Regions from separate parts of the Homo sapiens genome. Here region 2 is linked to region 1. Evidence: promoter capture Hi-C in human tissues and cell types (Jung and others, 2019). All regions are on one chromosome and are shown on one strand. Each heading gives the region's core, a stretch centred on a gene start or on the middle of the fragment in contact. The rest is flanking DNA. Distances are from core to core; before and after follow the strand shown.

Evidence for each region. The method cuts DNA at HindIII sites, captures the fragments that hold promoters and counts their contacts. A contact is called where the count stands out against the background at its distance.
Region 2: a contact is called between a fragment that was not itself captured here and the fragment with the promoter of HSPG2 in region 1, in 1 of the 25 tissues and cell types used here (H1 embryonic stem cells).

What each region holds. Positions count from the first base shown.
Region 1 is chr1:21,935,750-21,938,657 of GRCh38, forward strand. It overlaps HSPG2 (heparan sulfate proteoglycan 2), which reads right to left and starts at 1,561. Exons shown (of 97, transcript NM_005529.7): 1 at 1,406-1,561. The coding sequence starts at 1,468. RefSeq lists an enhancer at 11-852 and a silencer at 1,600-1,949. The HindIII fragment of the contact is 19,449 bases long and covers 1-2,908 here.
Region 2 is chr1:22,099,485-22,102,385 of GRCh38, forward strand. It overlaps CDC42 (cell division cycle 42), which reads left to right. Exons shown (of 6, transcript NM_001791.4): 6 at 1-1,876. Among named protein-coding and RNA genes, the nearest start is that of WNT4, 42 kb to the right of the region's middle. The HindIII fragment of the contact is 3,633 bases long and covers 1-2,901 here.

The DNA.
Region 1 (2,908 bases), core at 311-2,810:
TAGGTTGGTGCGTTGGGAAAAGTAAAAGTCAGTGCCAGGAGTGCAAGTTCAGGTCAAGACTAGGGAGCTACTGGATGGCCCTGCTGAATATTTTGGGGTGAGAGGCTGAAACAGGAGGACGACAGAGGAGGCTGCCCAGAGTGGGGATGGGGGAGGAGAAGTGCTGGGTGGGTGGGGCAAGAGCAGTGAGGAGCCAGGTCTGGGTGGGGGCTTGACGAGTGACTCAGGAGGGTAGAGGTGCGATGAAGCCAGGAAGGTGAGGCCAGGCAGGCAGTTCCTGGGTAAACACCAGCCTGGTTAGAAAAGTCCCTCTCTTGGCTCAGAGAACAGGGAGGCAGGTATGGGGACTGCCTAGGAGCACCTCGGAGAGAGTGGGGGTGGCTCTGTGGCTCCCCACGGTAGGCTCGGCTCCCCAGATGTGCCCCCACCCACATCTGCCACTAGCTCCCTGCCCACCGACCCCACCCAGTCCTCCTCAAGTTCACTCAGGTCCTCAGGGCCTCTGCTGGCCAAGTGCCTTCTAAGCCTCGGGATTCCTGACCGTAGAATTCCCTTTTCCTCCACCTAAGCTCAGAGTAGGGGACTAGACTGCAAGGGCAGGCCTCTCCCTGCCTCTTGGAGACCTGGGAAGAGGAAAGCTGGGGAACTCGGGTCCCCCAAGGGTGCACTGCATCCCCGCACCACGCACTTTGCAGCTCATTCCACGCAGTCCAGCAACGCCCTGCAGCTATGCATTTTGAGGCCGTGCATTTTGAGTTCCCTTGACCCACGTGGGGCTGGCCTCAGAGAGGTTAACTAGCGTGCCCCAGGTCACACAGTTACTCAGTGAAAGGCAGGGATTGATTCAACTCTTCGGCTGTATGACTCCAAGGCCCGTGGGTGTTCCACACAAGCTTCAGTTCTGTCCCAAAAGTTTTGCTTGTGCCTACCTGGGTCCAAGCTCCCCAAGGTGATAGACGGTGTGGTAAAGTTTCAGCGAGACTCATAGGGTCCCCATCACCACTGAGTGGCCGTTCTGCCAAGCTGGCGCAGAAGGGTTCCCTCGTCCTGCCAAGTTCCCACCCTGCTCAAAGTTTCCCCTCCTGGTCCCCAGGAATGGTAGGCCGGACCATGCCCAGCGAGACTCCAGCACTCGGCAACGTGGCCGAGAGACCCACGGGCTCCCACACGGGCCAGCCCCGCCCCCAGCCCCACGAAGGGTCCTGACTGGTGGCCCCCCTGGATTAGCCCCATGCCGCAGGGTGGCGCCGGCCCGGGGTCCCCGGCGGGCGCCGCCGTCCCGGGCCAGAGTCCCCGCCGCGCAGCCTTGGGCGCCCCAGCCAAGTTGGCGGGAGGCGGCGAGCGGGACCGGGGCGCCCCTAGCCCCTCCGCCCCCGCCCCCCGCCCCTCTGCCCCGCACACTCACCGCCAGCAGCCGCCCGTGCAGCAGCAGCGCCAGCAGCAGCGCGCCCGCCGCCCGCCACCCCATGGCCCGGCCCGCGCCGCTCTCTCGCTCGCTCGCTCCGCGCCGCCCGCTCCGCGCCGCCCGCAGCCGCCCGCTCGCCGGCCAGCTCGGGACAGCGCGGCCCTCTCCCCACCGCCCCCTTTCCTCCCCGCCCGCCCCGCCCCCGCAGCGCCGGCCCCGCCCCCGAACCGCCCCTCCCCGGAGCGCCAGGCCCCGCCCACGGACCGCCCCCGGGCCGCGGGCTCTGCTCGCCCCAGCCGGCCGCGCAGCCTACTAGGCCTTTGTCTGGGCCCCCAGCCCCCTCCGCGCGGGCCGCGGCCCGGCCCGGCTCCCCGCCAAACCCGGCCTGGAGTATGGGATGGGACGGGGCGGGGGACCGGGGGCCCGGGCCCGGGCATGGGATGGGGCCGCCGGGCCAGGCGCTCTCGCCTCCCCGATCCCCGGCTCCCCCGCTTCCCCGCGCGCGCCGCCGACTTCCACGCCCCTGCACGCCCCGCACGGCCGACTCCACTCGCGCAGCTTTTGAAGATCCCGGGATCTCCTTCCCACGCTCACACGCACGCAGCTGCCGCTCCGCGCCACACGTGCACGCCAACTTCCACACCCAAGAACACCTTCACACCATAACTTTACTGCACGAACACACTTGTGCGCTACCCGGGAACACTTTCACACTCTGGACCCAACTCTGAAGTACCAACAATCCTCACCGGCTCACATGCACACTTAACTCGCTTCCAAACTCTCACCTCCACCAGGGACACAGGAGACAGCCCTCACACCACACTCAGCCCCTCACTCACGCATACATCCCAACAAGTCACGGAGCGGGAGGACGCCTTTTCACATAGATTCCTCGCAGGCACGCACATTTCACACACAGGCCCACATCATTGCCTACATGCTTACCAGCTTGTTTTTTTTTTTTTTTTTTTTTTTGAGAAGGAGTCTCGCTCTGTCCCCAGGCTGGAGTGCGGTGGTGGGATCTTGGCTCACTGCAACCTCCGCCTCCGGGTTCAAGCAATTCTCCGGCCTCAGCCTCCTGAATAGCTGGGATTACAGGCGTGCCACCACGCCTGGCTAATTTTTGTATTTTTAATAGAGATGGGGTTTTTACCATGTTGGCCAGGCTGGTCTCGAACTCCTGACCTTGTGATCTGCCCGCCTTGCCCTCCCAAAGTGATGGGATTACAGGCATTGAGCCACCGCACCCAGCCTCAGCCTGTATCTTTTACCTGTTCTCACCCACTAATCACAGTGCCTCATAGTGGGCACTGGGTACTGAACTGAGCTGCCCACCCCACCTGCACCATTTTCCATGTAAATCACTCACACACCAACTTTGAGTCACATAAATCACAGCCCCAGAGCCAGAACCACACCAACTCACACACTCAGGCCCAGACAGACAGACCCTGCCAAAGCCCCATCACAGATGCTCGGGTGGGTGGTAAAATCACAGCC
Region 2 (2,901 bases), core at 296-2,795, 160 kb after region 1:
AAACTGTGTGCTTACCATTACATATCTTATGTGGAAATAAAATGTATATGATTAATTACAAAGCTGAAAATCGTAGTTGAAGCATCATATAGTGCACAGGGCAAGCAAAGCAGCATAAAAGGCTTCATCTGTAAGGGTAGGTTTGTTGGGTAGGAGCTTTTTGGGGGAGGTGACTTTAGGATCAGTTGTAGCATGAGAGAATATGACACCTTCTTCCTTTAGAGGATCTAAAGGTGTAGCTTTAGAGGATTGTAGGGTGCCTTTGCCCATTGTGTCATTTGGTCCTTCTTAAAATTTGAGTGTTTATTCTCTACATGGCACTCTTTTAAGCCTTTGTGTGAATTAACTCAGTCTTCTCAGCAATCCCCCATTTTTTCATATGTGGAAACTGAGGCATGTTATGATACAAAGCTTGTCCAAGAATTCAGAGCTAGCTTGTCCAAGAATTCAGAGCTAGTAAGTGAGGGAACTGGGATTTGAATTTAAGCAGTCTGTCTCTAGAGTCTGCTCAGCTGGCCTTTTTTTCTTTCTTCTTCTTCTTCTTCTTTTTTTTTTTTTTTGTATAATAGGCCTGTGAGTTGGGAAGAGCAGGGTTTGTTTGGTGAGAAAGTTGCACCTTAGTGAATACCCAAGGTCTGAGGGAGGCTTGGAGCCAGCTCTGCAACCTGGCTCCCTTCTTTCATTAGCTTGACCCAAGCACAGGGAGATGACTGGGGCTCTGCCTTCATCTTCTCTGCAAACGGTCAGGGATACTCATGCAGTTTTTGAGTTTAAGTAGTAAACTCCTAAACTTCAAGTCATGTTTGTATTAGTGATTTCACTTGACCTCAGTACAACTCTGTAAAAGAGGCAGGGATGGATGATGTCATTTGTCAAATGGTAAAACTGAGGCGAAACAACTTGGCATTGTTGGTGTTGTGCGAAGTACATGCATAGGCTTTGGATTTGAGTTTGGCTCTGCCACTAACTTGATCTATGTCTTCAGGCAAGTAACTTAAATGCTCTGAGTGTTGCATTCTCTGTGAAGTGGAAATAGCTGTACTTTGCCCAAGAGTTGTGAGAGTGACATGAATTGCTATATGTGAGGTTCTTAGCATAGTGCCTGGCAAGTAGAAGGTACTCATCTGTGAATGGGGTAGATAGCAGCTGTCTTCATCACTGTCATCATTGTTGGCTCACATCAAATCAGGACCAGAAAACCCTGTTGACTTCTGGGTCTTAAACTGCTGTATCAGTGAGGGGCTTCCTCCTCATACTCATTGCCAGGAGTAGAGTAAGGCTTTTAATTTCATCTCTAACCAACTCTGATAGGGCTGGAAATGTGTATGGAGTTCCAGACCCACCATGGGGCCCCAGTGCTAGCTTCTTAGCCCTCCTTTGTAAGGTTTGCACTAGTTTGATGGGAGAGGGATTTTTTTTGTCTTGATTCTGAAGCTCTTAAAGAAATGCTCCTTTTTCTCCATAACTTGAGGATTTCACAATTGTATTGGAATTATTGGTGTTAAGGAGTTAGGTCCATCTCTTGGCAGCTTGTGAAGGGTGGGCAGGCACCTGTGAATTCTTCACTGGCTTCTTGTAAGAATGACTTTACTGGAGGGTGCTGAGTTTGTGATTATCTCCTCTGCTGCTAGAAAACTCCGTGAACCCTGGTACATATAGCGTGATAAATCAAGTCCTGTTTTTGCTCCTAACTTGCATTATGGTGTTTGATACTATATCTTCATTTCTCCCATGGTAGTAATAACACTGTTGGAAAGAGCTCTCAGTTGGAAGTTGAAGATCCAGGTTCTAGTTGAGGCACCAGAGTTTCCTTGGGCAAGTTGCCATACCTTTTTGGGCCTTGGTTTCCTCATCTCAATAAAATGAGTTTCTGTTCCTTTTTGGTTTGTGTCTTTTTTTCAGTAGGCCTTCTTTTTCATAAACAAAAGCTTATATAGAGCCCCACTGTAGAAACAGAAAAGGTGTATGAAACAGAGTTGCTGTAGTTAATGCAGGCCCAGCAGCTTTACTCTTCCCACTGCCTCCTTGTTGCAAACAGAGATAAACTTTGTGCAGCCCTAGTAACCTCTAAGGTGTTGCCAAGGGATTTGAACACGACTGGTGCAGGTTCATTTCTGTAGCCTCTTAAGTTTCAGGATTTTTTGCTAGCTATTGACAGGTAGTTAACAAAAATCTATAAAACCTGTATACTAAATATACAAGTAGACTAGTGAGTCTTCAAGAATTTTGTGATTATTATCCCTATATGGAGAATCTTTTTAGATTTTTACTGATATAGTTGAGAGATTCTAAGTTTGGTTCAGTCTGTAGTTTTAAAAAAAATGTATAGCAGTAACCAGTAAAGACCGAGTTGGTTTTTGTTTATAGGATAAATACGGCTGCTTTTTTTTTTTGAGACGAAGTTCCGCTCTTGTTGCCCAGGCTGGAGTGCAATGGCGTGATCTTGGCTCACTGCAACTTCCACCTCGAAGGTTCAAGCAGTTCTCCTGCCTCAGCTTCCTGAGTAGCTGGGATTACAGGCATGTGCCACCACGCCCAGCTCATTTTTTGGTATTTTTAGTAGAGACGGGGTTTCTCCATGTTGGTCAGGCTGGTCTCGAACTCCCAACCTCAGGTGATCCTCCCGCCTCGACCTCTCAAAGTGCTGGGATTACAGGCGTGAGCCACTGGGCCTGGCCAAATACGGCTTCTTAACAGCGGCAGACAGGATATTTTCCTACCTTATGGATCACTTCCTTTTGGGAATACTAGTAGGATCCAAGCATAAATATAATTCAGTGGTGAAACTAGATCCCTTTACACAGACTTATCTGTTTCCCTTCTTGTAAGTATCCTGGCATTCTTCATTACAATTTATATAAAATAGCATATTTCCTGTTGTTCATGTTTCAGGAATCATTC